Regions from separate parts of the Homo sapiens genome. Here regions 1 and 3 are each linked to region 2. Evidence: promoter capture Hi-C in 16 types of primary human blood cells and fetal thymus (Javierre and others, 2016). All regions are on one chromosome and are shown on one strand. Each heading gives the region's core, a stretch centred on a gene start or on the middle of the fragment in contact. The rest is flanking DNA. Distances are from core to core; before and after follow the strand shown.

Evidence for each region. Contacts are between HindIII fragments. The CHiCAGO score rates a contact against its expected background, and 5 or more counts as called.
Region 1: a contact is called between a fragment that was not itself captured here and the fragment with the promoter of AMPD1 in region 2, in 2 of 17 cell types (naive B cells and total B cells). The highest score is 8.3, in naive B cells.
Region 3: a contact is called between a fragment that was not itself captured here and the fragment with the promoter of AMPD1 in region 2, in 2 of 17 cell types (total B cells and naive B cells). The highest score is 6.1, in total B cells.

What each region holds. Positions count from the first base shown.
Region 1 is chr1:114,350,129-114,354,346 of GRCh38, reverse strand. It overlaps the pseudogene LOC100421116. Among named protein-coding and RNA genes, the nearest start is that of TRIM33, 160 kb to the left of the region's middle. RefSeq lists enhancers at 846-1,346, 1,347-1,847 and a silencer at 1,186-1,480. The HindIII fragment of the contact is 218 bases long and covers 2,848-3,065 here.
Region 2 is chr1:114,692,795-114,697,454 of GRCh38, reverse strand. AMPD1 (adenosine monophosphate deaminase 1) reads left to right here and starts at 1,909. Exons shown (of 16, transcript NM_000036.3): 1 at 1,909-2,005; 2 at 4,008-4,019. The coding sequence starts at 1,984. The HindIII fragment of the contact is 1,819 bases long and covers 1,775-3,593 here.
Region 3 is chr1:114,404,143-114,408,652 of GRCh38, reverse strand. TRIM33 (tripartite motif containing 33) reads left to right here. Exons shown (of 20, transcript NM_015906.4): 14 at 1,553-1,712; 15 at 2,894-3,243. Among named protein-coding and RNA genes, the nearest start is that of TRIM33, 100 kb to the left of the region's middle. The HindIII fragment of the contact is 2,497 bases long and covers 1,067-3,563 here.

The sequences.
Region 1 (4,218 bases), core at 1,707-4,206, 340 kb after region 2:
TGTTCCACTGAAGTGGCTGCTGAAGTATAGAGTGGTACCTCCTCTTCATCCTCTTCCAAATCTGAGAGTTGAAAGACAGCATCCCCAGGTGATTGGGTAAAACCTTTAGAGACAATACCAGGTTGCGGGGTCAAGAACAGTTCTCAAGTTCGGTTAAACAAGCCATTGCCAATGGTGCAGTTTGTGATCCTTTGAGGGGCTTGACTTGGAATTTTTCTGGCACAAAACCTGGAAGGGATCGGCACTACTGAGGCCTGTGATCCCTACCTGGTCGGTGCAGAGAAAGGCAAAGCTGTCTGTGGCCAGGCCCTTCTTTCTGGCCATTCAGAATCTCCATCTTCTGTTCCCATTCTTCAGCAAGACTAAGGCAGCAGCAGGACTAACTCTAAGACAATATAGACCATGTTTTAAAGATATTTAGCTACAGTGAGAAAGAGACAGAGAAGAAGTAAGCATGAAAGGGGATAGTTTGTTTATTAATGAGATAGTGGATCAAGTTCAAAGATGGTATGAGGGACCAACAGAGGAGAAGTTCGAGACTGAAGAGAGCTGGGATAATCAATTGAGTAAGTGTCCCAGGGTGGGATCAGCAAGGAGATGTGTGGGAGATGGGATCCAGAGCACGATGGTAGGATTTGCTTCTTACTTCCCCCACCCCCTAACCACGTTCTATTTTGGATGAAGAAAGCTTCCCTTAAGCAAACCAGACTAAAGGGAAACCAAGGATGGCCTTGCATGTCTTAATATTTCTTTATGTTTCAGACTGGCTTTTGCACTTTCCTGCAAGCTGACTCACACAGTCAGAAGGCCCTACCTCCTCCATGTGAAAACGGAGAGTTAATTTGCATGCTGCTGCCTTTGCCAAGCCTTCCTGTCTTACGTCCCCTCCCAGTTCCAGTGGCCCTCCCTCCTCCCCCACAGCTGGCCCACTGCCCACCTGTACTGTGGTACTGTCTGCCTGGAGTCTGAGGTCTTGCCTGCTCTACTTCCTGACTGAGCTTCCCCTGCACGGCAGAGAGGTCCTTCTCACCTAGCATCCTACTGAGGGCCTGCCACGGAGTAGGTATTTAATGAATGCTTCCCAATTCAGATGAAAAGAAATCTCATTCCATTAAGTTATTGATTTCGAATTGAAATTTTATCATTAATTGTGGGAGGCAACCCTGACTTCTTAGGCCCAATCCTCTCCTGTAGGTCTCCTAGAGAAAGACATGATTGGGAAGCAGAAAGGGTTTGATAGCTCAGCCTTCCCCATCTCCCCTTGGCTGCTCAGCGGAGCTGCCTCTTGAGAAATGCTGAGCTGCCTGCCAGCCCGTGCAGCCTGTCAGCTCCCATCTGCCAGCCCCATCTGCTCTTCCCCAGCCACACTGCTGTTCGCTGCTGCTGCTGGGCCCTCTCCTATCATCTCTGGCTCGGCCTCTACTTGCTGCCTCTCAGCTTCTCCCCAGGGAGCTGGTTGCCCTGACTTCCTTTGCACCTATTCTCCTCCTCCTGCCAGTTTCGGCTCAATTACCCTCCCCACACCGACTCATTCCTCCTGCAAGGGGTCTGAGGCTCCACTATCGAGCAGTCAAAAGGAAAAAAACATGGAGCCTTGCCTTTCCACCACACACACCACCTCCAACTCAGGCAGGCAGTCTCCCTGCTGAGGTTGAGGAGGGCAAGGCCTGAGGGTCTTACAGCAAGACAGGTCTCCTTAGGTGGGCAGCAAGCTCCTAGGCTGGGAACGGACAGAATCTTACTGCTCAATGGAATCTCAGATATCAAGTCTAGAGGCAGATGGGGAACAGCAACCCTGGAGGAGAGGCATATTGACCGGGGTGACACTGTTGGCTCCCTACAGAGCAGAGACTGGAACACAGGTTTCCTGACTTCATCCAGCCAATATTTACTGAGCATCATCTGTGTGCCAGGCAATTGATTAGATCCACACCTACCTCAAGAAGCTCATGGTCTCGTTTGCACTCCCAGCACAGGGCTCTTCCCAGTCACAGCTGCTGATATAGGATAAGTTTTAAGGCATTGCTATAAGCAAAAATGATTGCCATCTTCCTAACTTCATGCATGGCAAGGGCTTAAATGTCCTCACATCTTTATCCAACAAATTGGTCTCACTTTTCCCAGCCCCAGGTTTACAACAGCAGGGTTCACACAACCATCCTTTTTGCTTGTGGGGTGAGATTGTCCTAGGGGTGCTGGAGAATAACCTGGGTTTTACGCAGTGGTGATCAGGAGACCCCAGAGGCTTTGTCTCTGCAGCCTGCCTGCCTCCGACATGTTAACAGCAATCAGTATGATTTTGACCAATTTTTCTGACTTCACAGTTCCCGGGAAGCCCTTTTCTACATCAGACAGTTCCCTGTGAGCAACACCAGCTTTCCCAATGCCCTAAAACTATGTCCCCCACTTCTGTGACTTGATGTGTGGGAGACCACCATTAGTGTCTTTCCACAAGGTCATGTATTGTCATATTGATTCATTGAATCCAAAGACCTCTAGAAAAGTAACAATAGCCAACATTTATGAAATGCTCATTTTGTTCTAGGCCCTGTTTTAAGCACTTTTGGTGTAACAATTGTTTTAGTCTTCCTTGATGATTATGAAGTGTGCTACCATTATTAGTCTCATTTTAGAAATGAAGAAACTGAGGTTTAGAGGAGTTAAATAATTGCTCAAGATCCCAGTTGCTGGGAAGTGGTAGACCTCAGATTTAAACGCAGCTAACCTGACTTCAAGTCTATGCACTTCACTGCTATACCTCCCTGCGTTTGGTGCATGAAGTCACTATGACCTTGGTACCAATTCATTCCTCTGGGGCATTCCTCCATGGCAACTATAGAACAAGCTTTCGGGTGGGATGTCTACAATAATTGTGTAGGTGGGGAGGTGGTGATCCATCTTGTCCATCAGTTCCCATTGCCTCTGGGCCTGGCCTGACATGAGTTGGGACAGCGTCCACCACATCAGGAATGTGGCACTTGCCAGGGCCCAGGAGCCAGTGGCTGAGGTGTGGGGTGGGTGGATGCCTGGGAGCTCGGAGATGCTGGAGCACGTAGGCTCAAGCTTGCAGTGCTGGCCTGTCTTCTACTGCTTTGCTCTGGACATGTAAGAAAACTGCGTCCCCAGCCTGGCCAGTCAACAAGCCAAGAGAGTGGCATAGGTGGGTGGCAGTGGATGGAGGGTGCTGAGCACAAAGGCCAGCACAACCTCAGTACCCTCCACTCTCACATGGTCCGACTCCTTTTAGCCCCAAGGAAGGGAGAAGAGAACATGCTGTTTGGAGGAGGCCGGGAAGAGCCCTGGAGGCACCGACTGGCCTCAGGATACTCCCATGCTCCTGGGGCCCTGGAGCAGTGCCTCCTCTACCTACCAAAGTTCTTTGGAGCAAGGCAGGGGATGGGCAGGCATCTGAAATTGAGCACCAAATGACAGGGGTGGGCAAGGGGGCTGGGCGGTGAAGGGCGCTGCAGGGAGGACTCTGGTGGAGCAAGGGCCACTGACAATGTCTCCTCACCATCAGCACGGAGATCCCTGCCCAGGATCTGCAGCCCTGTCCCCATTGGTCTGCACTCAGGGGAGGCTCAGATGTTAACATCTCTGGTTCTTTTAGAGACTAGGACAGGACAAAAGAGGAAAGGACGCATTTGCCTGTGGATGGAAGAGGCTAGCCAACAAGAAGGGCACTGTCTCTAAGTGGTGGGTTAGGAGAGGGTTGACAGCTCCTGCACGTGGCCACCAAGTCAAGTCTCTTTCCCAGCCTCCCTTACCTGAGCAAGTCCTGCGAATGACAAATGAGCTGAAATCATACACCTTAGTTCCCAGAATGTTATATTCTTGCACTTAAGAGGACTGAGTGTGTGTTCCCATGTCTTTCCTGGCCTGCTGGCTAGGCATTGGCAAGGACTGTACTAGCCATTTGCAGCTGCAAACGGAAGCCATGCCTGAGGATGGCAGAGCCACACACCAGCCCTGGACCACTTGCCTACCTCCGGACTGTCACCTGGAGAGAAACTTCTTTCTTGTTTAAGCAGTTTATCCTTTGCCGGAGGACACGTGCTTCCACGTGGAAAGGCAGAGTGGAGCAAGGAGTGGTGGGTGGGCATTGCAGGATGCTTCCATCCTGACCAAGTAGACTGAATGAGGGACTTTACCCAGCTCTGGAGCTGGAGCTCCCATTTTCATGTGGAATTCATTCAGCAGGACACCGGCTATGTCCGC
Region 2 (4,660 bases), core at 660-3,159:
CTATCCACATATTTCCTTTTTCAGGCAGGAAGAAGAGGAAGGGCAAAAGGCAAAACATATGCCAGCTGAGCTGGTCCCTTTTAAAAGAACTTTTGGAGACATCCCACCCAGCAATTCTGCTTACATCACTTTGGCCAGGCTGTGTCAAATGGCCGCTTCTAGCCACAAAGGATTCTAGCAAATGCTGTTTTTTGGCTGAGCACATTAATGCTCAAACCAAAGAAGTTTTTGTTTGTAAGAAAGGTAGGGAAAATGATCTTTGGGTAGGCAACTAGGGTATTTACACAATTGGAATGAGAAAATTGGAGTGTAACTTATATAAAGATAGGAATTACTGAAGGAGAAGCAGGTTCATGGAGGAAGATGCTTGGTTTGGATGTATCAATTTGTGGATACTGTTGGGAAATCCAGGTAAAAATGTAACAAAAAGGAGTTGGAAAGAAATGAACAAATATTTTGGTTCAGTAACACCTTTGTAATGTGTTGCAATATTGTTGATTGAGAGGTTGGCCATAAGGCTAAGCACTAAAATATTGTTAAGTTTTGCCAACAAAAAGGCTTGTCCCAATTTTCAAAAAGAAATAGTTAATAGTAAAAAGATCATTTGGTCTATGCCCATAATTCTGTTGCTAATCTGAAGTGCCAAGCTCATCTTCAATATAAGCTGTTATAATTTAAAATTTCTGCTGAGTCTAGCAGCGTACTTTCTTTACCTAGCAGCAACTATCAAATATTTAGTCATAACTGGCCGGGCGCAGTGGCTCACGCCTGTAATCCCAGCACTTTGGGAGGCCAAGGCAGGTGGATCATGAGGTCAGGAGATCAAGACCATCCTGGCTAACACAGTGAAACCACATCTCTACTAAAAATACAAAAAATATTAGCCGGGCATGGTGGCAGGCGCCTGTAGTCCCAGCTACTCGGGAGGCTCAGGCAAGAGAATGGCGTGAACCCGGGAGGCAGAGCTTGCAGTGAGCCGAGATCGCGCCACTGCACTCCAGCCCGGGCAACAGAGCGAGACTCTGTCTCGAAAAAAATATATGTATATACACATATATATACATATATACATATATATACACACACATATATACAGTCATAACTAAGACTGTGTGTTATTATGGAAAGAGCGTGAGATTTGGGTCCAGAGAGCCTTGGCTTTGCCATTTATGATGAACAGAATGACTTTGAGCAAGATACCTGTCAGAGCCCCAGTTTTCTTATTTGGGAAACAGGGATAAGGTATTACTTGCCTTACAGGATTGTAATTAGTATCAAATAGATAATGTTTGCCAAATGTTTTACATACAATAAAATGTTATACAAAACAAAGCTATTGTTCTTATTATAACAATAGGTAGAGAAGTGGTAACTGGATACTCTGGAGGACAGTTGAGTTTCTGTAAAAGACTTGAAGTAAATTTAACACTTAATTCATTAAACTGTCAACTGAAGTTCTGCTAAGTCAGACACATTACTAATAAAAACATGCATTCCTGAGCGTGTGTGCGTGTGCGTGTGTGTCTGTTGAGAGCTTGATGAATGTACCAGCATATTCACCAACCACAGAAAGCTGTTTGCGTGATGTGAAACCCTGAGGATCATAGCTTCAGAAACCGGAAAGACTTCACTGTATTTCACTAGGGTGGGATATCACCATCAGTGGTCCTACACTTGCCAAAGATCCAGTCTGTAAGAAGATTTAGAGAGTATTGAAATGCAATTTTTGGCCCACCACAGATATCTTCTAATCCCAAAGTAAAGACTGAAAGCTTCACCTGTTTTTCACTATCAAATGCCTCAAGCTATAAATAGGTCCAAAGCTCATCTCTCTCCACTTAGCAGAGAAGAATCAAATTTCCGGGGGCAAAGCAAAATAATAAAATGAATGTCAGGATATTTTATAGTGTCAGTCAGTCACCCCACAGTCTCCTCTCTCTTCTTTTCTACTGTGCTATCCTAGAATCAAGGATTTCAGCAACAATGCCTCTGTTCAAACTCCCAGGTAGGTGTACAAAGTGTTTGGAGAGCTCAGTTGTTGTTGTTTTTTTTTTTTTTTGACAAGCAACTGTTCCTTTAGCTACCATATCAGCTTTGATCATTCATTTAGGGTTCGTGATAGCTTTAACATACATTTCAGGAAAACACAAAATATTTTCAAGGGTTTTTTGTTTGTTTTTAGTTTTGGGATGTGGGTAAGTTTCTAAAACTGTTATCATGTATATTGCATCTTTGATGATCCCAGTAGAAAACTCTGTGAAATATTTAATATCTATTCTGCTAGTCTAAACAAAACCTGTGCTGCCATAGCTCTGAGACGGCTTCTACATAATGACTCTAGCTATGGTATTGGCTGAAAATCATGAACATGACAAAAATAACCCATGTGTGTATTCTGATGGTTCACGAGAATAGCTTTCTGTTGTCCAGGTTTGTACGCAGAGTAATTTTTAAAATAATAATGTTATAATTTTTAAATGATAAAAGCAATACATGTTTCATGTGAAATAGAAATTGTGCTGAAAAAATAAAAGTAATAAACATTCGTTTTGAAAGTTGGGAAATTCAGTAAAAGTAATAATTTTATTTTTTACTTATTTATTTATTTTTTGAGACAGGGTGTCACTCTGTTGCCCAGGCTGGAGTGCAGTGGCACGATCACGATTCACTGCAGCCCCAATCTTCTGGGATCTGGTGATCCTCCCACCTCAGCCTCCCGAGTAGCTGGGACTACAGGCACTTGCCACCACGCCCAGCTAGTTTTTGTATTTTCTGTAGAGACAGGGTTTCGCTATGTTGCCCAGGCTCATCTTAAACTCCTGAGCTCAAGCAATCTGCCTGCCTCAGCCTCCCAAAGTGCTGGGATTACAAGTGTTAGCCACTGCACCCAGCCAAAAGTAATAATTTTAAAAATCTGCACATCCATTATCCAAAGATATTCACTCTTAACATTTTAGTGTTTTTTTTTCTTTTCAATCTATTTTCTGTGTAAAATTAAAGAGTTTTTTTTAAAAAGGCACTGTTATTATATTGCACATGTAATTTTATATCCTGCTTTTGGCAGGATAATGTTTTGGCTTAACTTTACAACTTATCCTTTTACCATGGTATCCCAAACCTTTCCTAAAAACCATTTTAAAAGACTGCATATTCTATTTTCTTAATTAATCCCTTAGGTTCTTTATGGTTTGGGGGTTTTTTTTTGTTTGTTCGTTTTTGTTTTTGTTTTTGTTTTTTTAGAGACAGAGTCTCGCTCTGTCACCCAGGCTGGAGTGCAGTGGTGCGATCTTGGCTCACTGCAAGCTCCACCTCCCGGGTTCATGCCATTCTGCCTCAGTCTCCCGAGTAGTTGGGACTACAGGCGCCTGCCACCACGCCCGGCTAATTTTTATATTTTTAGTAGAGACGGTGTTTCACATATAACACAGTGAATATCTGTATTAGCCAGGATGGTCTCGATCTCCTGACCTCATGATCTGCCAGCCTCGGCCTCCCATAGTACCAGGATTATAGGCGTGAGCCACTGCACCCGGCCTCTTTATGGTTTTTTTAAGTATAAGTATGTTCTGATAACAATATTGACACCTAAAGCTTTTTCCATGTTTAAGGATGATTTCCGTAGGATAGCTTCTCAGAAATGGTTGTTTGGTAGGTGTTACTAAATTGTTTACCAAATGAGCTGTTTTAAGTTTACTACTACCAACATCATATGAGCATTCCCATCTTTCTTCATCAGATATTTTTAAAAATCATATTTTATAGAGAGTGCCTTTTAAAAAGTATACTTATAAATGTTAAGAGACATATTAGAAAAGAAAAGAAAATGAAGAGCTGTATAATGACCATATTCCCAAGCTTTCTGATGGCAGAAAACTGTAGACAAGCTGGAAGGCTGAGCTGAAATAACAGCAATCTACATGTGTCTACCCCAAAGCAGTGATTAATAGCCACCATGATTACAGAAAGTTGTTCACATATTTTATCTTGTTTTATTTTACTTCATACAGCTGAAGAGAAACGTGAGTATTGCATTACTTTTGCTGCCATTTGTCAGAGTATCAATTTAAAAAAATGATACTATTCCTTAATTCAGAAACATGGCTATTTTTCAGCAGTGTTTATTAAATAATAGCCTTGAAAGTCAACAAAGATTCATAATGACCATAGATATCCCATAGCATAGCAAATAAGCTCATGGCTTTTCTGGATTCTAGTGTGTGTATAAACATATATATATATATAATTATATATAATTTTTTAAAAGAAAACCTCATGCAGTGCTTTTACTTATTTATTTATTTATTTATTTATTTATTTATTTATTTATTTATTTATTTTGAGATGGATGGTCACCCAGGATGGAGTGCAGAGGTGTGAGCTCTGCTCATCGCAACCTTTGCCTCCCGGATTCAACTAATTATCTTGCCTCAGCCTCCCGAGTAGCTGAGATGACAGGTGCACACCACCACACCTGGTTAATTTTTAGTAGAGACAGGGTTTCACCATGTTGGCCAGGCTGGTCTCGAACTCCTGACCTCAAGTGATCTGCCCGCTTCAGCCTCACAAAGTGCTGGGATTACAGGTGTGGGCCACCACACCCAGCCTGTTTAATATTTTGAAATAAATGACATAGATTAGCCAAAGGGGCCTATTGAATCTT
Region 3 (4,510 bases), core at 1,066-3,565, 290 kb after region 2:
TTCCTTTTTGTTAAGAAAAATAGCAAATATGTATAATAAAAGTAGAATATTACAGTGAACCCCTTTATACTTAACACTCAGCTTTAACAGTGATCAAATAATGGCCAATCTTGTTTCTTCTATACTTCTGCCAATTCCTTTCTGGTCTGAATTATTTTGAAACAAATCTCAGTCATTTCACTCGTGACTGTTTCAGTATATATCACTTAATGAAAGGAACTTTAAAAATTTATAACCACAGAACCATGATCACACCTAAAAAAATTTAACAACTCATTCTTTAATATCAGTAGAGATCCAGTTAATGTTTAGTGTTCCCAATTTTTGCAACAAATGCCTTTGAAAAAAAAACCAGATGATTTCTTTGAATCAGATGCAAATAAGCTCTATACATTGCCATCAGTTTATTTGTTTACATCACTATCAGTTAATTTGTTGTAAAAATGTAGTTTCTCCTACAGTGTTTTCCCGATTTCTCCATCTTGTCATTTAAGTACATTGCCTCCTGTTTTTCTGTCTATTTTGGTATTTAGGTCAAGAGGGTTGATCAGATTTAGGTTTGATTTGGGGGAAGGGAGAGCAAGAAGACTTGGTAGTGTAGTGGTGGCATATACTTCCTTTGGGGCGAATTATGCCTGGTTGGGGGTTTTTGTGATGGCAACCGTTAATAATCATTGTTTAGCTCTATTATTTTTCTGCTGGTTGAAATATTACATTTTAATTATTGTATCATTCTTTATTTCTTTAGAATATTTCTGTAAAGAGAAGCTTTCTGTCATCAACTATTGGGTTATAGGAAAGATAGGATAAATTCTTTCTGTTTATTTCCCTGCTTTTGTGGTAATGAATTGATTTCCAACACCCTCCAACAGTGACAGTTTTATTGTTATTACCTTTATGGACTGAGATATTTAAACATACTTTATATATTTTAATCCATTATATATGTTACGTCTGTATGTATGTATATTGAACACTGAACATTATTCCATCTTTGTCCTGTCAAAGCTTTCTCAGGCTTGCTCCTTAGTCCTTTTGCTATAATCACAGCAGTCTTTTTTAAGCTTCCATGTTTCCTGTGAAACAGCATTTCGGGTTCATTTTGTACATTTCATGCTTCAGACCTGGAATCAGCCACTTTCCCAGGAAGTTCTGGTAGTGTTAGCAGGAAAGCAGGAAAATAGTGTTTGAGGATAATATTCTAGTACTAATAGCACTCATTGCTACTGAATTGTTCATTGTTTCTTAGGCCTTTTCAGTGGACAGAGCTAAGAAATAGGAGTGTGTGTGTGTGCGTGTGTGTGTGTGAAGAAAGTGCTTCAAACCATAAAATGTGTTTTTAGGGTCTTCTGAAAGTTGCTGCATAATTTTAAAGAGTTTTAAGCTAGGCTTTATACCACATTCCCCTTAACTACATTATGAGGTATCCTTATCTTCTGTAAAGTTAATTGTCTATTGTCTTCACTTTAGTGAACATTACTTTTCATATAATTGTTTTTATTTATACCATATAGTCAAACGTATGTGATCTTTATTTGTTGTTTCTTATTAGCTGTGGGTCATCAGGAAGAACTGCTGAGAAGACAAGTCTTAGTTTCAAATCTGATCAGGTGAAGGTCAAGCAAGAACCTGGGACTGAAGATGAAATATGTAGCTTTTCAGGAGGTGTAAAACAAGAAAAAACAGAGGATGGCAGGAGGAGTGCTTGCATGGTAAGCTCCCACTGGAGTCTGACAGGGACTTAAGGACATCACTTCATTGATTCTTTCAGCTCTGAGTATATTAAGACTAAGTAGTGGGTCTAGAAACATTTATTTTTGAAATTTCATGCCTGGCACAAGCCAGATATCTCTTTTTCTAACTCAACTTTTTTGTCTAAGAGTCAGCTGTAATTAATCAGAAAAGACTTAATTGTATTAAGTACTCATTTGAAATTATCTTTGAATTTGTATTTAGTCAATATTCTTCCCATGATGCTAAATCAGATTGTATCTTGTCCTGAAATTATTATTTCAGTAGTCACATTGAATCTCAGGCCACAAAAGATCTTTGGGATTCTCCTGGACCTGTGAGCTCAGCATTAAGATTGCTGACATGAAAGAAATTTATTGATCAGAGTTTTGTGATAGGAAGTTTGTCTTTTGGCTTACGTATTACTAATCATTCTGGAGTTCCTTGAGTGGAACATTTATAAAATTTCTAATACAGAATGAAGGAAGGCCAAGCCCCTCTTGGTTTAAATATTTTGATTTTTGTTTTCTCTTTCTGACCGGGCTTCTTTTTCCTTTTTTATATGGTTGGCACATGGGAATTCATCTCAAGGTATTGGTATATTTAACACAGTATATATAGATTCAGAGAGCAAGAGATTCAGCCTTGGTTTTGGAGTATTGTTACGTCTTCATCCAGAACTTGGTTTAGAAAGTACCCCCATAAAAAAAATGGGTGCCAAGGTTGGTGAACAATTTCTTTTATGTTGTTGCAGCCTTCCTACAATATAGTAGAATGATAGGTGAGCAGAAGAATATTATAGAATGCTTCTAAAATGCTATGCAAAAGATTCTGGGTGTGAAAAGGGGTGTGCCATAATTAGCTCTCTCAAGGAAAAGTATAACCCTATGCTCACTTCCCAATCAATAGCTTAACAGTTTAATTAATTTACTTATTATTTGAGTGAGACATTATCAGAGGAGCAGACCCCTTAAAATCATATGTTAGCGTGCCTGAATAATTTTGGGGTTATTGTCATTTCTTTATGGCACTATTGTGATCTATAAAATAAATTTGTTACGTCAGTATATCTATATGCATATTCACATAACTGTTAAATACACATATGGCATACAATAAAGATTAAATGATTCTTCAAGAATTTGTCATCGTTTTGTTTTAGTTGAGCAGTCCTGAGAGTAGCTTGACACCACCTCTCTCAACCAACCTGCATCTAGAAAGTGAATTGGATGCATTGGCAAGCCTGGAAAACCATGTGAAAATTGAACCTGCAGATATGAATGAAAGCTGCAAACAGTCAGGGCTCAGCAGCCTTGTTAATGGAAAGTCCCCAATTCGAAGCCTCATGCACAGGTCGGCAAGGATTGGAGGAGATGGCAACAATAAAGATGATGACCCAAATGAAGACTGGTGTGCTGTCTGCCAAAACGGAGGAGATCTCTTGTGCTGCGAAAAATGTCCAAAGGTCTTTCATCTAACTTGTCATGTTCCAACACTACTTAGCTTTCCAAGGTACCAGTGAAATAATTGATTTTTGGTGTTGATTTTCATAAGCTAAAAATAAATAACAGAAGAATGTTCAGGGCAGATGGCCTTCTAACCAGTGCATAGTATTTCTATAAAACAGGGAGCCTGTTATTCTTTTGGTATTAGCTTCCAGAGAAACTAACAATAAAATATCTAAGATCTAAGTAGTACATTAATGTTAAAGAGTAGATTTCATCTCCTGGCCTTTAGTTTATATTCAGTATAAGGAAAATAGATAAAACTCTAAATTAATAGGGGGCTAAGGTTACAAAACCTGCAGTCTGGTTCTAATTCTGTAGTAAGCTTGAGCAATTCACTAATTATCAGGGATCAGTTTTTGCATCTACAAGTGGTAGGTTTTGGTTTAGCAGAGCTGTAGTTCTTCCCTTCCATTTATTATTTTATGTTCATGCAACCTCTTGTCTCTTGATTTCAGAGACCATAAAATAGTAGAGTCATACTTGTTTTTTTCAGTCTTCTCCTTCCTCTCTTGTCCCCCAATTTCTTTTTGGTGAAAGTAAGTCAGTATTCTTGGGGTAAACCCAGCTTTTTTCTTGCTATAAATTGAAAAAAAAAAAAAAAAAAGATATATCTTCTCAAATTCCTGAGAAGCAGTAACTTTAATTGAATAATAGTGCCCTCTTTGAAAGTGTTAACCTTTTGGATTAGAAAACTAGTAGATATTTAAACAGTGCCAGAATATTTTTCTGAAGAATTGTAATTTCTTACCTAAGTCTTTGGAGATAGAGTTATTTGCTAGAGATGTAATAAGGGCCTTCTTTTTCTTTACTCTTATTTAGAAAAGAAAAGCATTGGCACTTTGATCTTGAAATTAAGAATTTTCTTTTCTTTGGGTAGTAATATTTACTGGAATGTCAGAATTTTGCCACTGAATGCCTTCTTTCAATAGCAAATGCTTTGAAAGGGTTGTAAAATGTTGGCGTAAATTAGCCAGGTGTGGTAGCTCACACCTGTAATCCCAGCACTTTGGGAGGCTGAGGCAGGCGGAGCACTTGAGGTCAGGAGTTTGAGACCAGCCTGGCCAACATGGCAAAACCCCATCTCTACTAAAAATACAAAAAAAAAAAGAACTTAGCCAGGCATGGTGGCACACACCTTGTAGTCCCAGTTACTCGGAGAGCTGAGCCAGGAGAATTGCTTGAACCTGGGAAGCAGAGGTTGCCATGAGCCGAGATTGTACCACTGCACTCTAGCCTGGGTGACAGAGCAGGACTCCGTCTCTAAAAAAGAA